Linked DNA regions of Homo sapiens: regions 1, 2, 3, 5, 6 and 7 are each linked to region 4. The links are contacts of gene promoters, found by promoter capture Hi-C in blood cells and fetal thymus (Javierre and others, 2016). All regions are on one chromosome and are shown on one strand. The core of a region is centred on a gene start or on the middle of the fragment in contact, and the rest is flanking DNA. Distances in the headings are between cores, read along the strand shown.

The links. Contacts are between HindIII fragments. The CHiCAGO score rates a contact against its expected background, and 5 or more counts as called.
Region 1: a fragment that was not itself captured here is called in contact with the fragment with the promoter of KRTAP5-5 in region 4 in 4 of 17 cell types (M0 macrophages, M2 macrophages, M1 macrophages and 1 more); the score reaches 7.5 in M0 macrophages.
Region 2: a contact is called between a fragment that was not itself captured here and the fragment with the promoter of KRTAP5-5 in region 4, in 1 of 17 cell types (M1 macrophages). The highest score is 5.0, in M1 macrophages.
Region 3: a contact is called between a fragment that was not itself captured here and the fragment with the promoter of KRTAP5-5 in region 4, in 2 of 17 cell types (M0 macrophages and M1 macrophages). The highest score is 6.9, in M0 macrophages.
Region 5: a contact is called between a fragment that was not itself captured here and the fragment with the promoter of KRTAP5-5 in region 4, in 1 of 17 cell types (M2 macrophages). The highest score is 5.0, in M2 macrophages.
Region 6: the fragment with the promoter of MRPL23 here is called in contact with the fragment with the promoter of KRTAP5-5 in region 4 in 2 of 17 cell types (erythroblasts and M1 macrophages); the score reaches 6.4 in erythroblasts.
Region 7: a fragment that was not itself captured here is called in contact with the fragment with the promoter of KRTAP5-5 in region 4 in 2 of 17 cell types (M0 macrophages and M1 macrophages); the score reaches 5.3 in M0 macrophages.

The regions. Positions count from the first base shown.
Region 1 is chr11:2,003,027-2,006,358 of GRCh38, reverse strand. It overlaps a transcript of MRPL23 not described here. Among named protein-coding and RNA genes, the nearest start is that of H19, 6.9 kb to the right of the region's middle. The HindIII fragment of the contact is 6,201 bases long and covers 1-3,332 here.
Region 2 is chr11:2,099,491-2,102,859 of GRCh38, reverse strand. No RefSeq gene overlaps it. Among named protein-coding and RNA genes, the nearest start is that of MIR483, 33 kb to the left of the region's middle. RefSeq lists enhancers at 1,745-2,386, 2,387-3,029. The HindIII fragment of the contact is 695 bases long and covers 1,501-2,195 here.
Region 3 is chr11:2,023,128-2,026,271 of GRCh38, reverse strand. No RefSeq gene overlaps it. Among named protein-coding and RNA genes, the nearest start is that of H19, 27 kb to the right of the region's middle. The HindIII fragment of the contact is 4,354 bases long and covers 1-3,144 here.
Region 4 is chr11:1,627,926-1,631,482 of GRCh38, reverse strand. KRTAP5-5 (keratin associated protein 5-5) reads right to left here and starts at 1,708. Exons shown (of 1, transcript NM_001001480.3): 1 at 553-1,708. The coding sequence starts at 1,642. The coding sequence ends at 929. The HindIII fragment of the contact is 5,409 bases long and covers 1-3,557 here.
Region 5 is chr11:1,210,950-1,214,047 of GRCh38, reverse strand. No RefSeq gene overlaps it. Among named protein-coding and RNA genes, the nearest start is that of MUC5B, 11 kb to the left of the region's middle. The HindIII fragment of the contact is 1,826 bases long and covers 454-2,279 here.
Region 6 is chr11:1,945,457-1,948,642 of GRCh38, reverse strand. It overlaps MRPL23 (mitochondrial ribosomal protein L23), which reads right to left and starts at 1,311. Exons shown (of 5, transcript NM_021134.4): 1 at 1,264-1,311. The coding sequence starts at 1,280. The HindIII fragment of the contact is 42,193 bases long and covers 1-3,186 here.
Region 7 is chr11:2,077,214-2,080,610 of GRCh38, reverse strand. No RefSeq gene overlaps it. Among named protein-coding and RNA genes, the nearest start is that of MIR483, 55 kb to the left of the region's middle. The HindIII fragment of the contact is 1,339 bases long and covers 1,112-2,450 here.

The sequences.
Region 1 (3,332 bases), core at 60-2,559, 380 kb before region 4:
CACTGCTCTGGACTCCTCAGTTCCTCATGGAGTCTGTTTAGTGCCTCTCCAGAAAAGACAAGTTGAAGCCCTGACCACCAGCATCTCAGAGCACGAACTCATTTGGAAATAGGGTCATTATAGACGCAATCGATCAGGTCAGACTGCAGTAGGGCAGGCCCTGAATCAAACATCATGGTGTCCTCACAGGTAGAGGAGAGGCACGAGAGAGCAACGCTGCGTGAAGGCGCAGGATGAGAGCATCCTGGAAGATGGGCACGGCTGGGGTGACAGGTCTGGGAGCCTGGGAACACTGGGAAAGTCGGCCAGCACTGGAGCCTCCCTTAGAGCTCGAAGAAGGAGCCAGCCCTGACCACCCCGACTCTGACCTTCTAGCATCGAAACAGGGAGAGACGCATTCCACGTGGTTGTTCCAATCAGCCCAGTTTCTGGGGCTTCCTTATGGCAGCCTCAGGGAACTGGCAAAGCCCAAGTGGGCTATCCCATTACTTATATCTGGGTAGGTCCCAGCCACAGGGGAGAGAGAAGAGAAAGCCCCTCTATCTAATGACACGCTGTACTCATGTCCCACCCGCATGATGTGCCGTACCCGTGTCCCTATCCAGGTGACGTGCCGTACCCGTGTCCCACCCGGGTGACGTGCCGTACCCGTGTCCCACCCGGGTGACGTGCCGTACCCGTGTCCCACCCGGGTGACGTGCCGTACCCGTGTCCCACCCGGGTGACGTGCCGTACCCGTGTCCCACCCGGGTGACGTGCCGTACCCGTGTCCCACCCGGGTGACGTGCCGTACCCGTGTCCCACCCGGGTGACGTGCCGTACCCGTGTCCCTATCCAGGTGACGTGCCGTACCCGTGTCCCACCCAGGTGATGTGCTATGCCCATGTCCCACCCAGGTGACACGCTATACCTGTGTCCCTATCCAGGTGACACGCTGTGCCATGTCCCTATCCGGGTGACACTGTGCCATATCCCTATCCAGGTGACACACAGTGCTCATGTGTCTATCTAGATGACAGCACCGTGCCCACATCTTTATCCCGGTGACAGCACTGTGCCCACGTCCTGTCTTGGTGACATCACTGTGGTTATATACCTGTCCATGTGACATCACTGTGCCCACATCTGCCTCCAGGTGACAGCGCTGTGCCCACATCCCCACCCAAGTGCTCTGGGCACCTTGGCTGGGGCTCTGGCCACTTTCATGTTGGTGCCACCCTGTGTGTGGATCATAGCACCCAGGCACTCACCATTACCGTGGCCAGCACAGACCAGACCCGACCCCAGTAGTCCTCAAAACTAGGTCCCCTGCTGGGTGCGGTGGCTCACGCCTGTAATCCCAGCACTTTGGGAGGCTGAGGCGGGCGGATCACAAGATGAGGAGATCGAGACCAACCTGGCTAACACGGTGAAACCCCATCTCTACTAAAAATACAAAAAATTAGCCGGGTGAGGTGGTGGGCGCCTGTAGTCCCACCTACTTGGGAGGCTGAGGCAGGAGAATGGTGTGAACCCGGGAGGCGGAGCCTGCAGTGAGCCGAGATCATGCCACTGCACTCCAGCCTAGGGGACAGAGCGAGACTCAAAAAACAAAAAAACAAACAAAAAAAAACTAGGTCCCCTGTGCTGTGCTGCTGTACCCCAGCAGTCGCTTCACTGGCAAGACTACTCTTAGCAGGTGCGCCTGGAAGCAGAAACTGGGCAGCTCCCGGTCTGTCCTATACACATGCAAATGCCCCATTAGAAAGCAAATAGCCCGAGGTGTTTGCCTGCTCCCAGGCAAAATCTCCCAAATCTTCCTCCGGGAATCAGTGAACAGAAGAGATGTCCATCACCCCCAGGAGAGTAGTGTCTGAACCCGTCTAACCGCCCAACAGGTTCTCCCTGCCGCCGGTCTGGACAGAGCTGCTTTATCACAACAGGTGACTTGCAATAAAGTTTAATTCACACAGAGTCGGCCGTGCAGGAGACCAGAGTTTTATTATTACTCAAATCAGTCTCCCAGGAAATTTGGGGATCAAAGTTTTTAAGGATCATTTGGTGGGTAGGGGGCGAGTCAATAGGGAGTGCTGATTGGTTGGGTCAGAGATGAAATCATGGAGAGTCAAAGCCATCTTTTTCTGCTGAGTCAGTTCCTGGGTGGGGGCCACAAGACTAGATGAGCCAGTTTATCAATCTGGGGGGTGCCAGCTGATCCACCCAGTACAGGGTCTGCGAAATATCTCAACCACTGATCTTAGGTTCTGCAACAGTGATGTAATCCTAGGAGCAATTTGAGGAGGTTAAAAATCTTTCAGCCTCCAGATGTGTGACTCCATGACTCCTAAACCATAATTTCTAATCTGTGGCTAATTTGTTAGTCCTGAAAGTCTAGTCCCCAGGCAGGAAGAGGGTCTGTCCTGGGAAAGGGCTGTTATTGTCTTTGTTTCAAAGATAAACTATAAACTAAGTTCTTCCCAAAGTTAGTCCAGCCTGCACCCAGAAATGAATAAGAAGGCAAGACAGAGTTGGTTACGTCAGATCTCTTTCATTGTCATAATTTTCTGTTATATATTTTTTTTTTTTTGAGACAGAGTTTCGCTCTTATCATCCAGGCTGGAGTCCAATGGCTCGATCTTGGCTCACTGCAACCTCCACCTCCGGAGTTCCAGTGATTCTCCTGCCTCAGCCTCCCAAGTAGCTGGGATTACAGGCGCCCACCACCATGCCCAGCTAATTTTTGTATTTTTAGTAGAGATGGGATTTCGTCAGGTTGGCCAGGTTGGTCTTGAACTCCTGACCTCAGGTGATCCACCCACCTCGGCCTCCCAAACTGCTGGGATTACAGGCATGAGCCACCACCGCCGGCCGATTTTCTGTAATAATTTTTGCAGAGGCGGTTTCACCAGGAGAACCAAGCATTAATGCGCTGTGGCTGATGTGTAGTAGAGCGGCATTTCCCAATGGGAGAACCCTGGGGCTGTCTAGGAGCCCATGCATGGCTGGGAGCCTAATCCCAGGGACACCACCGATGACAGCTCCCATAGCACGTAGGACAGTGGATACTTGGAGGCAAAGAGAAATCTCTGTTCTGCAGTGGTCATGACTTGGACCCCAAAGAACTTGAGCCCAAGGTCCAGAGGGAGACCCTCCCAACAGGGCCTCCAGCAGGAACAGGGATCGTGGGAGCCTGCCAAGCACAGCGCACAGGTATTTCTGGAGGCTTCCCATTCAGTCTTGGATGCCAGCCTCACCGAGGGCGGCCCATCTTGCTGACCTCACCAAGGGAGGCCCGTCTCACTGCCCTGATGGCGCAGAATCGGCTGTACGTGTGGAATCAGAAGTGGCCGCGC
Region 2 (3,369 bases), core at 599-3,098, 470 kb before region 4:
GGAGGTGCGGCAAAGATCAGGCCAGGCCTCATTGTTTAGAAAAGAAGGAACTGACTTCAGCTCCGGGAGCAGGGCCTCCCACCCCACCCGGACTTCCTGCTCCCTGGGCCTGCCAGTGCGGACTTTGTCCACCTTATTTGGGGATTGAGAAGCCACACTGCTCTATGGCCCTGGGGGTCATGGCAGAGAACCAGAGACTCACAGAGTGGAGGGTGCCTGGCAATCATTCTCCATGATTCAAGGTTACAACACCTTAGCCAAAGAAAGTGCTATTTGAGGATCCATTCATTCCTCCATCCAACTGTTCATCCACCCTTCCATCTACCCACCTGCTCTTCATTCATCCACCTACTTATTCATACGTCTACATTCATCCTCATGTCTCCACATCCCCCACTCACCCATCCATTCATCCTTTCCTCTACCCACTCATCCTTTCATCCGTCCATCCATCCATCCATCCTAATCATCCATCCATCTCAACCATCCATTCATCCATTCACACACCACCTTCCCATCCACTCATCCACCCATCCATCCCACACATCCTTCCACTCACCTACATATTCACTCATCCATCCATCCATCCATTCCAACCTCCATCCATTCACCCACCTACCCATCCATCGATCATCCATCCATCCATCCATTTATCCATCCATCCATCCATCCATCCATCCGCTCACCCATCCATCCATCAATTCACCCACCCATCTATCCACCCACCTATCTACCACCCTTTCCACCACAATTCTATATCATCCAGGTTTGATAATTGGAAGCCCATTGCTAAGAAAACTTCTTGAACAAGTTCTTTGGCTAAGAAACAAGAGGCTGCCTCAATTTACCCACTGCATCTGTGTCTTATGGATTTGAAGTCATCATAAGTCACATCTAAGACCAGGACCAGGACCTGAGACTGTCCTTTCAGGACCTTTTATTTTCCACAATGACAGTGACAGACACACACAGGGAGCACTAAGGCTGGGGTCCCAGTGGACGTCAGTGTGGGGAAGAGTCTCTCCTGGCTCTGTGTGGCCTTTGAAAGACACCTCATTCCTTTGGTCTAGGCTTCTCTGTAAAATGGGCTGCCAAGATGGTTGTGCGGGTCGATGGAGAGAAGTAATCTGCCTGTCTTTGAATCATTGCCTCCAGGTGAAGGTCTCCCCTCTTTCTAACTCTAATCTAAAAACCCATGAGGTTGAAATCCTCAAGCCCCAAGCGACACCTGTGAAACGGCCCAAGAGAAGCGTGCCATGAGGCAGCAGGAAGGGCATTCCAGGAGGAGGGAACAGAGGTGAGAGAGACGCCCTGACATTTGGGGACCCAGCAGGGAGTTTGGCCTGGCTGTCACTGGAATGGCAGCACAGGTGGCTGGAGAGGAAAGAGGGGCCAGGCTGAAGGATCAGATGCCCCTGGGAACACACAGGAGCTGTGGGGTGGGCCAGGTGGGGTTCCTGAGGGAGGGGCACAGGTGGGCCAGCTGGCCGAGAAGAAGCTTCCTCTGCAGGGTGGCGAGTAGAAAGGGGAGTGAGCCCCACCTGCATGGCTGCCGAGGGGTCCAGTGAGGGAAGGTGGTGAGTCCAGGGACCCAGCTTCAAGTGCCACACGGGTCCCGCTTGGCCATGCTGGATGGGAAGGGTTCTCCTCTGGTACACTGTGTCTGGAGGCCCCGGGTCTTCCTCCCTTGGCCTGGCAGGGTGGTCCCTCCCGCTGCTCGGCTCTGTACTAGGCTTGATCCCCTGTCTTGGGTACAGTCCTGCCCCAACCTCCCCAGGCATCCAGTCCCTCCTGTCCTGCCCCATGGAGTCTGCAAACCCAATGCCCTTGGCTTCTCCCTGCCTCCAGCTTCCGTCCTTCAGCCCGTGCCAGGGGCCTGCCCGGGAGGTCTCTTGTCACCAGTCCCCAGTGCCAGTCTCCCACTCAGCAACTGTGGGGCACCTGGAAGGACCTGTGAAATAAACCCCTGAACCCTGGCCCAAAGCCACTGCCCCCCAAAACCTGGACTCAGGGAGCTCAGCAGAGCATGCAGGACTGCAACCGGCCTGGGCTGTCCACTTGTCCTGCGGGCTTTGGGCTGGGGAAGGGCAGACGGAGGGGCAGGGCCAGGCCAGCCTAGGAGGCCCCGGGGTGCAGAGTGGGGCCTGGTTGCATCAGGGAACCCAGGGGCTCTGGTCCCCTGGGCCCAGCAAGCTTGAGATGGGCCTGGGCACCTCCCTCTCTGCACTGGGCGGGCTTCCTGCCTGGCCCCGGGAAGTGGCCCCCCTGCACCTCCCGCAGACAGGTGACGTCAGCGTCTGAGATAACAAGGCGGCCCTGCCGGCGTCTGCCCCAGCGTATGCCCACTGTAATCTGGGCTGTCTGGGCACAGGGGCCACCTTGGCTCGGTGAAAAGCTACCCTCGCAGTGAGCTCCGGTGGGGCTGAGGAAAACACGTCTGCAGGCCTAGGCGGGGCAGGCCCCAGGGGCGGCTCTGCCTTGCGCCCCCTAAGATCTGTGCCAGAACTGAGCTGTTCTTACTGGGGCACACAGGACCTGAAGCCCAGCAGGGTGTGCAGTCAGTAGGTGCCCAATAAATGTGTGGATGAGCCAAGGAACCCTGCACGAATTAGTGAGGCTGAAAAGCAGATGATTTAGAGGCAAGAGAGGCCGGAGGAGCCTGGGCTTCTCCAAAGAGGAGGACAGGATGCAGGGCCCCTGGCACACACAGCCCAGCCCCCACTCTGCCCCGCCCCCACCCAGGCCAGCCTCAGGCAGCCTGTCCTCCAGGCCCTGCTACCACTGTGGCCTGTCCTGTGGTCTGACTTGGCCTGGCAAGGGCACTCGGGCGCAGGGCCAAGAGTGTGGGGCCTGCCTTCCTTGTAGCCCACTCCAGTCTCCTCCGCTGGCCGGGGAGGGCAGGGGAGCAGCTGCTGGAGCTGCGGCTGAGAGCGGGTGACGGGTACTGTTGTCAGGCAAGGCGGGGGTGCGGCTCCCGCTTGGCATCCTCCACCAGGGCTGCAGTGAGAGGCGTGGCCAGCAGGTGAGCAGGCAGAGGAGTGTGTGGGTGCACCCAGCCCAGCAGCCTGGCCACGAGGGCCCCCTGGCACCCAGGCGCTGCTCTTCATCAGAGTCTGCCCTGTGCCAGCTGGCAGGGCCAGCATAGGGATGTTTCACTTACGTACACTTCACAAGGGAAGCGGCAGGCTGAGGAGCTGTCTGCTGAGGGCCAAGACCTGGGGACACGCCACAAGTGGGGACAGCAGTTCCTGAGGATCCCAATGAGCCCTGGTGGGAGGGGGCCATGGGGAGGGTCCCAGGGAGCAGGTGCTGGGCACTGTAGCGTGTCTGGGCCAGCTTTGACCCTCAGGAGGGTGGGCTGGGGTCAGC
Region 3 (3,144 bases), core at 386-2,885, 390 kb before region 4:
GGACTGTCCCCCGGGGTGGGTACACAGTGGGCACTTGGCAGGGACTGTGCCATGAACATGGGCTGCCCCTCACTGCCCACCTGTGCTGAGCAGACATGCACTTGGTCCCTGGCTGTTGGACCCAGTGAGGTGGCAGTGGCAGCAGCAGTGCCCACCATTCACACCTGGCAGGGAGACCTTCCCAAGGCCACCTGCCAGCCGCACTCAGGGCCAGGGCACAGGCTGTGCTGCTGGCCCCTCAGCCCACGCTTCCCAGAATGGCCACCTGGTCAGGAGGGAGAGGTCAGGGGCTCCGTCAGCCAGTGTCCTCCCTTTTAGCATCTACCAGGGGATGGGAAGGTGGTCCTCAAGAAGCCAGGGGTCAGGGCATCGCTGTGGGCGGCGGGCACCCGGGGCTCCTCAGGGTTCTCCTGGCCCTCCACAGCCACTGTGGGGAGGAGGTGCCTGCGGCTGCTCTGGGGCTTCTCCTGGCCCTCCACAGCCGTCATGGGTCATGGGTTGAGGAGGTGCCTGAGGCTCCTCTGAGTTCCCCTGGCCCTCCACGGCCGTCATGGGTTGAGGGGTGCCTGAGGTTCCTCTGGGTTCCCCTGGCCCTCTATGGTCATCGTGGGTGAGGGGGTGCCCGAGGCTCTTCTAGGGGTTCTCCTGGATCTCCACGGCCATCGGGTTTTTTGTGCCCATCCAGGTGGCAAGAGCAAGTGGATGAGACACAGGGAGAGGGGTCAGGGTTGTGCCCACCCTCAGGCCATGGTCCATCCCTGGCTCGGGACCAGACAGGGGTGGAATTTGGGAAGATCAGGAGGCACACAGCACAGAGGGGGTTGGCCAGCATCCACAGCATCGCCTGTACCTGCTCAGGCCTAGACACTCGGCGATGGTCCACACAGAGGCTGGGAGGACTGAGCTCCCTGCGCAAAGGGAGCAGTCAGGGGCCTCCAGCCACCGAGCACACCTGTGCCCCAGGGAGCCCTGCCTGGTGACGGGGCTGGGCGTGGCTGGGATCCTGCACCTGCGCCTCTCAAATGCTCTGCTTCCCCCGGCCTGGATGTCAGCTGGAAAAGGTCTTTTTTCCCCTTTCTTCTGCAGGGGAACATGTGGCCATTACAATTACTGGTGCCATGCAGGACTTCAGCTCCAGGCCTCAGGACCACAGGCAGCTCCTGGAGTTGGACGAGGGTGAGGAGAGAGGGCACAGGAACGGGGGCCGGTGCCTGGGTATAAGAAGACCCTTGTGGGCAGGGAGAGGGAGAGGAGGGGTGAAAGAGGACAGAAGCCCCCGGTCTTGATAGCTGGCCTGCCAGAGTGTGGGCAGGTGGCCTCTCATCTGAGTTGAGCATCTTGGTGAGCCCCAACCCTCCCGCCTGGGGGTCTCTGCCCAACCTGGTCCCTGGCCAGTCAGCCAGCAAGCCCCTCTGCAGCCCTTTCCAGAGGCTGCTGTGAGTCCGTGCCCACCTGCAGTCTCCCGCAGGGCCCTGGGAGGGGAAGGGGGGTGCAGGCGGCCCCAGCACCCAGCCTCACAGACACTGTTCCTCGGGAGCCGTTTCTGGGGTGCAGCTCCGACTCACACCCCAGAGCACCTTGGAGGAAGGAGCAGCAGGCCCCAGGTAGGTGCCGGTGGGGGGGCCCGTCTGCTTTGTCGCATTGGCAACCCAGCCCTGGAGCTGGGGGTCGGGGGGTCGCTGCCTGGAAGGCACATAAAGAAAGATGGAGCCTGGAATTTTTCCCTTTGGAAAAAGAAAACTTGTTCTAAAAGGGGAAAGATTGATGCTCTTGCTTTCCCACACTTGGTTTGAAGCCAACGAGGTGGTTTCAGAAGAAATTTTCCTCTCCTCTATTAAATGTAACCAAACACGATCGACATTTGCAGATCACACGGGGACCTCCAGGCAGCAGAGCTTAGGAACCTTCCTGCCTTCTGCCTGGCCAGGCGAGAACAGACGCACCTCTCACCCCCTGGCCAGACAGCCGGGCAGGGGCTGTGGGCAGGAGGGAGGTGGGGGCTCCTCAGGGCCCCAATGTCAGGAGGTGTCCCAGACAAGAGTGGAGGTGGAGGCCTGCAGCCAGGGGCTGCCCACCATCCAGCTGGCCAGATGAGGCCCCAAAGGAGCCTAGGTGAGGATGGCAATGGCAATGGGGCCACAATGGGACAGGGGCCTTGGCATCCCACACCACACCTGCCTCTCTTGGAGGCCGTCAGGAAAGCTGAGAAGCCAGGGTGGCCAAGTGAGGTGCTGGTGGCCCCTGCAGAGTCCCCCGGCTACATCTCGGCCGTGGCCCTGGCCGGGCTGGCCCCTCCAAAGGTGGACTCTGATCCTACAGGGGCAGTCCAGCCTCCTCCACCACACACACGCACACACCCACAAACACACACACACCACATACAGACACCCGCACACACCAACCCACCTCCCCACACCTGTACACACACCCATCTCCCCAGACACACACATACACACCTCCCCACACCAACACACACACAACCTTCCCACACCTGCACACACACACCCACCTCCCTGCACCCACACACACACACCCATCTCCCCACACCCGCACACACCCATGCACATCACACACAGACACACGCACAATGCCCAAGCACACAGGGCCTCGCTGCCCTTCCAGACACCCAGCCCTTACAAGCCCAGGTTCCCAAGAAACAAAGGTTTAGAGTTTGCTGCTTCCCTGAACCTCCCTCTTCTCGAGCCTCTGAGCACTCCTGAGAGCTCCTCAGACAAACTGGAGGCGAGGGGAGCCCCAGACAGTGCAGGGAGAGCCACTTCACTCCACCCTGGAGGGAGGGGTGGGCAGCAGGGGTGTCCCCTCCCCAGGGCCCACGGAATCTGCAGGGGAGATGGGGGAACACTGGAAATTGTCCCCCATTTAGACACTTGCAGAGCCAATGCCCCAAGGTCCCATCTTCCCGCCAGCACAGCCCAGTAAGGAGCCATGACATTCAGAAGGCCCAGGGCCAGCGCAGCACGATGGGCCTGGACTTCTAGGCAGCTTCCATGCGGCCGGGGTGCCCTCCTGCATCCAGCTGGCTGCCTGGACACAGACCCCCAGGATGCTCCCATCCTCAGTGGTGGCCGGAAGGAAGGCAGCCGGGGTAGACAGGGCCTGCGGGAGGGCAGGACTCGGCAGGCA
Region 4 (3,557 bases), core at 459-2,958:
TCTATTCAACTCCCGGCTGCCTTCGAGCTTGTGTCCCGCAGCTGGCGTTGTGTGCAGTCCTGCCTTCTCCTGTCTGGTTTTTCAAGGCCCTGTGAGATTGCAGATAAGCCCAAGCTCCTCCGCATCTCCACGTCTGGCTCCTGCATGCACTAGGGGCTTCTTAGGGCCTGATGTACCGCACAGCTCAGCATACAGACCCTTCCTCATCCTTCCGCTGAAGTGGCCTGGCCCTGAGCTTCCCTCCCTCCCACGGGACGGCAGTGCCTCCACGGCTGACACCACCGCCCTCACCACCTTTCCCTCTCCCCACCTCTCCCCACATACCAGACTGTGAGCTTGGATTTACTCTGCTCTGTCATCTCTGGAGCCCAACACAACAAGGGGCCCAGAGCAGAAAGCTATAGACGTTAGTTCTGTGCATGAAGACATGGACCATGACATGAAAGATGCTGAGGGGAGAGAAATGGGAACAGGCCCAGGGGTGGAGGCAAGAAGATGGTGCTTCTGGGAATGAGAGAGAGGTGGGAAGGAGAGAACCACAAGACAGTGAGCTTTGTGCTTAGAGACTTTGTTTATTTAGAGGGTCAGGATTCAGTCTTGATATACAGACAGCCAGAGAGATTGAGGGTCGATCACACTCCTGAAAGAAGGAGCAGCTGTCAGGGTCTAAGGGGTCTGATCTGCCTCTGGGGCCTCAGTGGGCCGCTTTGGATCTTAAATGAGTGAGGAGCAGGGAGAGGAAGTTCAGGAGAAGTAGTAGGCAATGAGCCAGAAGGGGTCCTCAGTCAGTTTCGGGAGCACTGGTGTGGAGTGGATGAAGCCAGTGAGGACACAGTGGAGACAGTGGAGCACCAGAGAACCCAGGGCAAGGAAGCTGGGCAGCCGGGCCCTTCACCAGTCAGGCCACCTGCAGTCTGCAGTCAGAGCCTCAGATCTTACACTGGCAGCACACGGGGACACAGCAGCTGGACTGGCAGCAGCAGGGCTTGTAGCAGCTGGATTGGCAGCAGGATGATCCACAGCCTGAGAAGCAGCTACAGGGCTTACAGCAGCTGGACTGGCAGCAGTAGGGCTTACAGCAGCTGGACTGGCAGCAGTAAGGCTTACAGCAGCTGGACTGGCAGCAGGATGACCCACAGCCTGAGGAGCAGCAGCAGGGCTTGCAGCAGCTGGACTGGGAGCAGCCATAAGAACCACAGCCCCCCTTGGACCCCCCACAGGAGCCACAGCCCCCCTTGGACCCCCCACAGGAGCCACAGCCCCCCTTGGACCCCCCACAGGAGCCACAGCCCCCCTTGGACCCCCCACAGGAGCCACAGGCCCCCTTGGACACCCCACAGGAGACACAGCCTCTCTTGGAGCCCCCGCAAGAGCCACAGCCCCCTTTGCCACAGCTGGAGCAGGAACAAGCTGGCACACAGCAGCACATGGGCTTGCAGCAGCAGACAGGCACACAGCAGCCGGAGCCACATCCCCCACAGCCCGCACAGCCGGAGCCACAGCCCCCACAGCCTCCACAGCCGGAGCCACAGCCCCCACAGCCAGAGCCACAGCCTCCACAGCCGGAGCCACAGCCCCCACAGCCGGAGCCACGGCCTCCACAGCCGGAGCCACAGCCTCCGGAGCAGCCACAGCAGCCCATGGTTCTGGTGGATTGAGGGTGGAGCAGGTAGAGGAGCAGGTGAGAGGGAGGTGCAGGTGTGGAGCCCCCTGAGCCCGGGCTCTTTATATCCCTGTCCAGGGTCAGGTGAGAGGCTGGGCACACTGTCACTTCCTGGTTCCTGCTTGTGCCACTGGTCCCAGTATTCTCTTCTGCTTTACATTTTTATAAATAACTCCTGTTTTCCTCGCACTTTTCTCGAATGTGCTGTCAGGTCTGTGATGGAAGCGGCCCCTCAGTAAACACTGGCCCCGCGGTGAGTTTCCCTTTCCATGTGACAAGAAGGAAGCGATGGGCAGGCAGTGGCTCGCTCAGAGGCCTTGGTCTTGCCGAGGGTGATTTTGAGCCCAGGACTCCTGGCTTGCTCCCGGGAAGATTCCTCTGCGGGAGCATCGTGTCTTGCTTGGGACGTGCCTAGGCCCTACACCTTCACGGTCCACAGCAGCTCCTGGCCCGCGGGCTGTTTCCAAGGGTCCCAGGACCTGGGGCTTCAGCCCTCAGCTCAGCAGGGTCGTTTTCGGTGTAAGACTTTGTTGGAAGGTTTGCAGTGTTGACTGAGACGGGGATTTTAAGCGCTTATTCTGGAGCTTGCTGCGTGCTCCCCATGGAAAGTGTTCTCCTGTGATAACCGCGGTCTCTTCCAGGGCTTTCAGACCACTCGGGTGGCAGGGCTGACAGATACAGTACAGGATGCCTGCTGGAACTTGAATTTCAGATCATCGAAGGCTGCCTTTTGAGGAAGGAAATCCAAGCATTGCAAGGGGCAGACACTGCCTCTGCGCTGGGTCAGGACCCAGATCGCATTGTCTCCTGCAGCGGTTCCTCCTGCCGCCGCACGGTGTCGCTGTGAAGCGGGTTCCCCCACTGCGTGGCCGGCCCAGGGGCTCCCGGACAGCGGCACAGGCTGATGGCAGAGGCCCTTTCAGGGCCAGTGAGCGGAAGAGGATGCCCTGTCTGGGTGCCCGCCTGCTCCGGGTCCCGGGCTCAGCCTGGGAAGCAGCAACTACATTCGGGTGCAGGCCCACTGGATGCTAAAGAAAGCCGGTGGAGAGCAGGGAACCGGATGGCCATTTGCCCCCGTGACCACAATACCTGTGAGTGCCCCGAGCCCAGTCAACAGGCCTCAGGCCACGGTGTAAACACCAGCTGGCACTCGGTGACTCTTGCCGTGTATGCTGGAGCCCCACTCTGTTCTGGGGCAGGGGACTGTATCTCAGGGAGGAACAGAAAACCCATTAGGAGAGAGCCGCCTTGTGTTGGCTGTCCCCACCAGAGGCGGCATCCTCCAGCTCTGGAACAGAGGCAACAGATACATTTGCTTCCTGATACATTCGCATCCAGCGCCTGATACATTCGCATCCAGCGCCTGATACGTTCGCATCCAGCGCCTGATACATTCGCATCCAGCGCCTGATACATTCGCATCCAGCGCCTGATACATTCGCATCCAGTGCCTGATACATTTGCATCCAGCGCCTGATACATTTGTCCCAGTGCTTGATACATTTGCTTCCAGTACCTCGTATATTTGCCTCCAGCCCCTGAAGTAATGTATCAACACCCGCGCTGACTCCTAGTGACACCCTTGGATCAGCTCCTTCCCTCGGGTACAAGAGGACTTTTCCTTTTGTACTTTGGGAACATCTTCCCTTTCATGGGCCTTTGTTCTTCGTGGTCCATTGATGACCTTCGGGTTCGCTGAATTGGGCAAAGAGGATCATCAGAGGGCCTCTTACAATGCTCTGATGGAACAATCAACATGGCAGTGGTCTCACCCTGTCCCGTGGGGCACCCCACGATTATGTAGCTTTTGAGCAAATGCCCCCTGAAATGTGTGTATTATATAAGGTGCATATGCTCCTGTCTAGTCATTTGCTATTTTAATTTTAGTTAATTT
Region 5 (3,098 bases), core at 117-2,616, 420 kb after region 4:
TTATCAAATTTGTTGGCAGACAATTGTTCATAGCATTCTCTTATAATTGTTTTTGTTCCTGTAAAATTTTTAGTAATATCCTTTTTATTTCTGATTTTAGTAATTTGAATCTTCTCTTTTTTCTTAGCCAATCTAGCTAAAAGTTTGTCAATTTGGTTGATCTTTTTAAAGAACCAACTTTTGGTTTCATTGAAGGCTTTTTTTCCTATGATTTTTTAAAATTCCTTGTTTTATTTATTTCTATTGTAACCTTTATTATGTCCTCCCTTTTGGTAGCTTTGGGTTTAGTTTTCTCTTCTTTTTCTAGTTCCTTAAGGTATACAATTAGGTTATTGATTTAAGATATTTCTTCTTTTTTGATTTAGTTGTTTCTAGCTATACATTTCCCTCTCATTACTACCTTTGTGTGTCTTATAAGTTTGGATACATTGTGGTTTTGTTTTCATTCAAGCTTTAAGAATGCCTAATATCTTTGGTGATTTCTTCTTTGACCTGTTTGTTATTTAAAGGTGTGATATTCAATTTCCTCATATTTGTACATTTTAGTTTTTCTTTTATTATTGATTTTTAGCTTCATTCCTTTGTAGAATACTTTGTGTGATTTCAATCTTTGAAAGTTTATTAAGACTTGTTTTGGATCCTATCATATAGTTTCTCCTGGAGAATATTTCATGTGCACTTGGAAAAAAATGTGTCTTCTGCTGTTGGTAGGTGAAGTGTTCTGTGCATGTACATTATGTCTAATTGGTCTATAGTGTTGTTCAAGTCCTCTGTTTCCTTATTGATCTGTCTGGTTGTTGTATTGATTATTGAAAGTGTGGTACTGAAGTCTTCAGCTATTGTTATAGAACTATTTATTTCTCCCTTCATTCTGACAATGTTTGCTTCATATACCTGGAGGCTCTGTTGTTTGGTTCATATATATTTATAGTTGTTATATCTTCTTGTTGAATTGACTTTTTTTTTTTTTTGAGACAGAGTCTCACTCTGTTGCCCAGGCTGGAGTGCAGTGGCATAATCTTGGTTCACTACAATCTCTGCCTCCCACGTTTACGCCATTCTCCTGCCTCAGCCTCCCAAGTAGCTGGGACTACAGGCACCCACCACCATGCCCGGCTAATTTTTTGTATTTTTAGTAGAGATGGGGTTTCACCATGTTAGCCAGGATGGTCTCAATCTCCTGACCTCATGATCCGCCTGCCTTGGCCTCCCAAAGTGCTGGAATTACAGGCGTGAGCCACCATGCCCAGCCAATCATGGTTTTTTAAAAATTGATTTTAACCAGTCTCTGCATTTTAAATGGAGAGTCTAAGTCTATTTGCATTTAAAGTAATTACTAATAAGGATGTACTTACCACTGCCATTTTACTATTTTTTTGTATGTCTTCTAATTTTTTGTTCCTCATTGTCTCCATCACTGCCTTCTTTTGTCTTCAGTTGATTTTTTGAAGTGACAAATTTTTATTCCCTTCTCATTTCTTTTTGTGTATATTCTATAGCATTTTCTTTGTGGTTACCCTCGGGATGACATATAACATCCTAAAGTTATAACAGTCTAGTTTGAATTGATACCAACATAACTTTAATTGCACACAAAACCCTCCTTCTACACAGCTCCACCCCCTCCCTTTATTTCATTGATGTCACAAATTACATCTTTATACCTTGTGTATTCAATAACATAGATTTATAGTTATTTTTATGCATTTGCCTTTTATATCCTGTAGAAAAGAAGAAGTGGATTAAAATCAAATTTACAGTAATACTGGATTTTTATATTTGGCCATGTATGTAGTTTCAGTGAAGATCTATTTCTTTTTACAGCTTTGAGTTACTGTCTAGTGTCCTTTTATTTCAGCCTGAAGGACTTTGTGTAGCATTTCTTGCAGGGCTTGGCTAGTGGCAACAAATCCCTTACCTTTTGTTTATCTGGTAATGTCCTAATTTCACCCTAAGTTTTGAAGGACAGTTTTGCCAGATATAGAATTCTTGGTTGACAGTGTTGTTGTTTTTTAATTTCAGCACTTTAAATGTTATCATCCACTACCTTGCTGGCCTTTAAGGTTTCTGATGGTAAATATGCTGCCAATCTTACTGAAGATCCCTTAAATACGACAAGTCACGTCTCTTCTTGCTTTTGAGATTCTTTCTTTGCTTTTATCCTTCAACTGTTTGATTATAATGTGTCTCAGTGTGGATCTCTTTGAGTTTATCCTACTTGGAGTTTCTTGAACTCCCTGGATTTGTAGATTCATGTTTTTCATCAATTTTAGAAAGCTTTTGGCCATTTTTGTTCCTTTGAATTTTTTTGAGTTTCTTTGAATAATTTCTCCCTTTCTCTCCTCCTGTAAGACCCACTTGGTGGTCAACAAGCACCTCAGATTCTATTCACTTTTCTTCAATCTTTTTTTCTTTCTGCTCCTCAGACTTGATCATTTCAATTGCCTTGTCTTCAAGTTTGGCTGAGCCTTTCTTATAACTGCTCAAATATGCTGTTGAACCCCTCTAGTGATTTTTTTTCATTTCAGTTATTATAATTTCCAAGTACAGAATATCTGTTTGGTTCTTTTTAAAAAGATTTCTGTCTCTTTGTGGGTATTCTCATTTTGTACGTGCATTGTCTTACTGACCTCCTTTGGTTCTTTGTCCGTCTTTTGCTTTAGTTCTTTGAGCAACTTAAGACAGTTGCTTTAAAATCACTGGCTAGTAAGACTGATGTCTGAATTTACTCAGGGATAACTTCTCCCAGTTTATTTTGTTCCTCTGGATGGGCTATATTGTTTCTTTGTAAGTCTTGTGATTTTTTTGTTGAAAATTGGGGATTTAACTATTATAATGTGGTAACTCTGGAAATCAGATTTCCCCCTTTTTCTAGTGTTGGCTGGGTTTTTCTCTTCTTTTTTATTATTGAAGGCTACAGTGATCCATTCGAGATGTTTTTAAGTGAACTTTGCAAAGGCTGTTTCTTGGTGTGTTTTTTTTTTCTTGACAGAGTCTTGTTCTGTTGCCCAGGCTGGAGTGCAATGGCACGCTCACTGCAACCTCTGCCTCCTGGGTTCAAGCAATTCTCCTGCCTCAGCCTTCCAAGTATCTGGGAT
Region 6 (3,186 bases), core at 62-2,561, 320 kb before region 4:
AGCCTGCCTCCCCACGGCCCCACGAGTGACTCACCCAGGATCCCACCCTCTCGGCACCCCCACCCCAGCTGCATCCAGTCCACAGCAAGTCCAGTCAGCGCTCCCTGCAAAGGCTCCCTGGCAACAGGAGTGTGTGCACTGCTGGGCGAGCGGGCCCCGCTGCCTCCAAGGCAACCACACCTGATCCGTTTCCAGGGGCCCACCACCCTTGGCCCTTCAGGAACACCCCACCCGGGTCCTCTGACCCTCACTTCCTCCTCATTCTCCAGGGACAGGCGAAGGGCCAGCGTGGAATTCACGTGAGGCTCAGGGCAGTGTTGGCCTCACTCAGACCTTTTCTTCCTTGGTGCTGGGTGTTCCCCAAGGTCAGGGCCACGCGCAGCACCGGTCCCAGGTGTCTGCTGAAGGAAGCCTCCTCCACTGGGGGTCCCACCTGCCACCCTCCCCTCTCTCCCCAGCTATGTGCAGGGGCCTCCAAAGCCACACCCTGGCCCCTTGACCGTCCCTCTCCAGAAACACTGATTACTGTTCTCCAAAACCCACCCGGGAGCCCACATCTACTGATTACGCCTGAGTCATTCGTTCACCAAGAAATATGCAGGGCTTCCTGCTTCAATTTGGGGAGGGCGAAGTGGTGCAGGACAGCGCCCCGATGGCCCCCTGGGAATCCAGAGAACATGCAGAGTGGGCGTGGGGGGTCTGGGCTGAGCAGAACCGGGCCTCCCGCCCTGCCTGCCCCAAAGCCCTGAGGGCTGCGGTCAGCTGCCCTTTCCCACTCAAACCCAATCTGGATTCCCAGCTCCTCTGCCTCAGGCCGCGCCCGCGCTGCGGTGGGGGCCGCCCGGGCCTCCCCGCCTGGACCCAACAGCCGACGTGGCCCCCGCCCCGTGACGATCAGAAACGTCTCCAAACAGCTCCCTCGGCCCTGGCTGCGGGACCAGCCCCGGGCCTGACCCCGGGCCACCCTCCCACTCCCCACGCGGGGGCACCGTGGCCTCCATGGGTTTGGCTCGGACCCTCTGTCCCCAGCCCGGCCACGCCCGCCCCCTGGGGTTGCCCTAAACCTGGCGGGGGGCTCCTCCGCCACCCGCCTCGCGTGTCTCAAGGCATGACAGGGGGTCCCGGAGAACCCTGCCTCGCCCGGGCCAGGAGGCGGCCCAGGGACGCCCACCCCGCTCCCCGGAGTCCGCGCGCCCTGTGGGGTCCGTCTGCTTGTGACACTAAGGGGCGCCCCGCGACGGGGGGGTGACGACCCCTACTCACACCACATTCCGCGCCATGGCGGCCACGCGCGCTTCCGGGGTCCGCGAGGCGGAAGGAGCAGCGCGCCCGCCCCGCACGGCCGCCGCCTGGCACAGCGCCCCCTCGCTTCCGGAGGCCGCGCCGCCCCCCCCGCACGCGCCAGCGCCCGTGCCGCGCGCCCGTGCCGTCCCCAGCCCTGCGCCCGCCCCGCCCCGCGCCGCCTTCTTCTCCCTCCCTGCCCCCCTCCTGTCCCGCACCCCACGTTCCTCCCCGCCCCGACCCCCACTCCCCGCGCCGCAGACTCCACAGGACGCGGGGCCGCAGCAGTCCCGCCCCGCACTCCCGGCCCCACAGCCTGAAGCCCGGGCCCGCGCCCCTGCTGCTCGCGCCCCGCCCACGCCCGCACCCCTCCCAGCCCCAGAGACCTCCCGCCGCCGTCGCACTCTTTCGGGCCTGTCTGCCCTGCCTCCCGGGACCCCGGCCTGCACGCCCCCCACACCCGTGCCCCTGCCCTTTGGCAGCTCCAGGCCACAGCCTGGCCCCGCACCGCTGCGCTTGCAGCTGCTGGGAGCTGGAAGTGGAGAACCGGGGCTGTAGTGCTGGGGAGGGCGGGTCCCCGGGCCTGGGGTCTGAAGCCCCTCTCTCCATCTGGCTGTTTTTACCCGGGAGCCCGGAACCCCAGGGCCCCTCACCTCGCCCTTCTGGCCAGCCCGGTTGGCAGCCCCCACGCTGGCCACACCAGCCACGCTGTCCATCCTCGGTGCTCCCACCACGCCTCCTCCAAGAGGGCCACTGGCCTCTTCAGGCCTTGCCGTTTGCTCACCCCCTCTCCACCCTTCTGGCCAGCCCCCTCCAGCCTCTGGCAAGGCCCTCTCTACAGGGACCCCCGTCCAAGGCCCAGTCCTCACTCCTTTCCTTGGGTAGTGCTGGCCAGGAGGGCTGCTGGGACCCTTCGGGAGTAGAGGGCAGCAGCCTCCCTCCCCTGTCCCCAGGCCTCTCCCTCCTCCCCTGGTTTCCTCTGCCTGGTGGCTGGATTCAGGCCACTTCTCCATCTATCTCTTTAACTGCCCGTGCCCCCCACCCCCAAGCCTGGCTTGTTCCCGCACCCAACAGCACCCTAAGTGTTCTTCAGAGCAAGAGGCAGGGGTGTCATGCTTCAGAGCAAGAAGCGGGGCCATGGGTCCTGGTTGTTGCTGGGGGCAGGGGGCCCAGGCCTGCAGGTGGGAACAGGGCTGCGGGAGGGCACTGGGGTTGATGGAAATTCAGGAGGAGGAGAGGGCACTGTGCCCCTCCGAGGGCCTGGGCCGGGTAGGGCTGGAGTTCCTCCTGATGGGTGGGTTTGAGTGGAAATGACTCCAGGGGGTCTATCTAGCATGAAGGCATTGAAGCAGGATGGAGTGAGAAGTGGGCCAGAGTGGGCAGGGAAGGTGGTGGCAGCCGTCCCCACTGTTGTCCAGGCCTGCGTGAGGTGGAGAAGCTCCAGGCTGCCAGTGGCAGGGTCCCAGGAGGCTGGTGACCAGACAGGCCTTTGCCCAGCAGCAGGTGCCCTTGGCCAGGCCCAAGGAGCAGACCGCAGGACAGGGATGGAGCTGGAGAAGGGGGGTCCTGGGGCCGGGGGTCCTCAGGCTTCCTTTTATGTTCATGCAATGCTGCCTCTTTCGGCAGCCACATTGTGCAGTGTGCTTAGAGATATGTGGCTGCTGGAAGTTGGGTTCAGAGTTGTGGGTGGCCGATGTGGAGAGGAGGGTGATTGGAGGCCGAGCTGTGGGTCACGGGTGGGTGCTGCTCAGATCACTGGGGCTGCTGGAGGGCGGCGGTTGAGCTAGGAGCTGAGGTCCTTCCTCAGGGCGAGGCAGGGGTGGGGTCACAATGGAGCAGACCCCTCACCACTCCTTCCATCCCTGTTTCTCTGATAGTCTGCTAATGGGATCCTCCGGAAGGCAT
Region 7 (3,397 bases), core at 532-3,031, 450 kb before region 4:
CAAATAGGAAGATGATAGAAGATTCAAGCCTAATGACATCAATAATCACATGAAATACAAATGGTCTAAACCTCATTACAAGTAGAAAATGTCAAATTGGGTTTAAAAAGCAAGGCCTGACTGTGTGCTGCCTACATTAAATATACAGACACAAATAGGCCAAAAGAAAAAGAATGAAAAAAGTTACAACATGCTAATGCTTGTCTAAAGAAAGCTGGAGTGACTATCCTGATTTCAGATAAAGGAGGTTTTGGAGGAAAGAATATTATAAGGATAATGAAGGCTATTTTATAATGATAAAGAGGTCAATTCTTCAAGAGGAAATAAGCATCCTAAACATTTAGGCACCTAATCATATAGCTTCCAAATGCATGATGAGATTGCAAGAAGTAAGCAAAACCATAATTACAGTCAGAGATTTCAATACCCCCTCTCCATAACTATGAGAACGAGCAGGCAGAAAAACTCAGTAAGGATTGAGTAGACGTAGACAGCGCTGTGAAGAAATTTGATCCAATTGACATTTATAGGCCATTCCACCCAACGACGGCAGACTACACTCTCCTCTCAAGTGCAGGTGGGGCATTTATAAAGATAGATCATATTCTGGGCCATAAAATAAGTCTTACTAAATTCAGCAGAATTCAAGTGATGCCAAATGTATTACCTGGCCATAACAGAATAGAATTAGGAATCAATAACAAAAATATCTCTGGAAAATTCCCAAATATTAAGAACTAAATAATAGGCCAAATAACAGACTTCTAAATAACTCATGGATCAAAGACAAAATCAAAAGGCAAATTAGAAAATTTGTTGAACTGAATAAAAGTAACAACACAGCACATGCAAATTTGTGGGATGCTGATAAACTGGTCATTAAAGAAAAAAGTATAGCACTAGCTGCTATATTGTAAAAGAAGAAGTGTCTCAAAGCAACGGCTTCAAGTTTTACCTTAAGAAACTGAGGAAAGAAGAGCAAATTAAACCCAAGTAAAAGAGAAAGAATGAAGATCAAAACAGAAATCAATGAAATAGGAAACAGAAAAAAAGAGAAAACCAATGAAAGTAAAAATTAGTTTTTTGGGAGGCTCAGTCAAATTGATAAGCTTCTAGCCAGAGTGATCGGGCAGGAGGGAGGGAGGAAGAGAAGGAGAGAGGGAAAAAAGAGACCTAAGTTCCAAATATCAGAAGCAAGTGACCCAACCACACATTCCACAGATATTAAAGGGATAATAGGGGAATATTATAAATGACTTTATGCCAATGGGTTCAACAACTTAGATGAAATGGAAAAATATTAGCAATCAACGCTCAGAAATTGAAATAACAACATTTACAATGGCATACAAAATATGAAGAACTTAGGAATAAATTTGACAGAAATGCAAAAGGTATATTCACTGAAAACTGCAAAATATTACCTAGAGGAGTTAAAAAAATTTAAATAAATGAAAGATATACCTTTCTCATAGACCAGGAGATTCATTAATGTTAAGACGTCAATTCTCCTTAAACTGATCTACAGATGAAATGCAATCTCAATCCAAATTACAAAAGTCTTCACTGTGGAAACTGACAAGCTCTAAGATTCATATGAAAATGCAAAGGCCAAGCAACTCCGAAAAAGAAGAAAAAGGTTGGAGGGGTCTCACAATCTGGTATCAACAGCTGTTATAGTGCGGCATCAGCATAAAGACAGATCAATAGTGCCACAATAAACATACGTGTGCATGTGTCTTTATAGCAGCATGATTTATATTCCTTTGGGTATATACCCAGTAATGGGATAGCTGGGTCAAATGGTATTTCTAGTTCTAGATCCCTGAGGAATCACCACACTGTCTTCCACAATGGTTGAACTAGTTTACTTTGAACAATGAGAACACCTGGACACAGGAAGGGGAACATCACACACCCGGGCCTGTTGTGGGGTGGGGGGGAGGGGGAAGGGAGAGCATTAGGAGATATACCTAATGTAAATGACGAGTTAATGGGTGCAGCATACCAACATGGCACATGTATACATATGTAACAAGCCTACACATTGTGAACATGTACCCTAGAACTTAAAGTATAATAAAAATATATATATATGTAAAAAATAAAAAAAAAGTGAAAAAAAAAGACAGACTAATAGAACAATGGAACTGAGCAGTGGGTCCAGAAATGAGTCCACACATATGTGTCCACACAAATGAGTCCACACATATGTGTCCACACAAATGAGTCCACACATATGTGTCCACACAAATGAGTCCACACATATGTGTCCACACAAATGAGTCCACACATATGTGTCCACACAAATGAGTCCACACATATGTGTCCACACAAATGAGTCCACACATATGTGTCCACACAAATGAGTCCACACATATGTGTACAACTATTTTGACAAAGATACAAAGTCAATGCTGTTAAAAAAAAAAAAGAGAGAGAGACAAGCTTTTCAACCAGTGGTGCTGGAACAATGACCATACACAAGCCCCCACCCACACACCCTCAAGCCATGTCTCACATATATAAAAATTCACCCAAAATGGATGATAGACCTAAATGTAAAACCTAAAAACACCAAATTTCTAGGAGAAAACATCAAAGAACATTTTTGTGACCTTGGGTTAGGCAAAGATTTCTTAGTTATACCAAAACTATAATTCATAAAAGAACTAATGGATAACATGGCCTTCAGCCAAATTAAAAACTGCTTCACAAAAGAGGCTGTTAAGAGAATGAAAAAACAAGCCACAGACAGGGAGAAAATCTTTGCAAATCATTAATCTGATGAAGGATATAGAGTTAACAAAACTCAACAATAAGAAAACAAACAATTCAATTAAACATGGTAAAAGATTTGAACAGACACTCCATCAAATAAGATAAACAGCTAGCAAATGAGTACATGGAAAGATTCTCAGCCTGATTTGTCATCGGGTAAACAGAACGGCTAAACTTGAAATGACTGATTATAACCAGCGTTGCTGAGGATGTGGTGGAACTGGAATTCTCACTGTGGGTACAGGGTATGGTACAACCATTTGGAAACCAATCTGGCAGTTTCTTAGAAAGTTGAATATTCACCCAGCACAGGGCCCAGCCATTCCACTCCTACATATTTACTCAAGAGGAAAAAAAATATGTTGATGCAAAGACTTGTGCATGAATATTCACAGAATCTTTTTTTTTTTTTTTGTAATAGCCAAAACCTGGATATGACTCAGGTGTTCATCAACAGATGAACAGATAAAAACAAGCTCTGGTCTAGCCAGGCAGGAGGGTATAGTTAGCAACAGGAAGGGGTGAGTTACTCATACAGAACAACAAACAAGGGTGAAGCTCAAGAGAATTTTCTGAATGAAGGAAGCCAGAGGAAAAAGAAGACTCACTGTATATT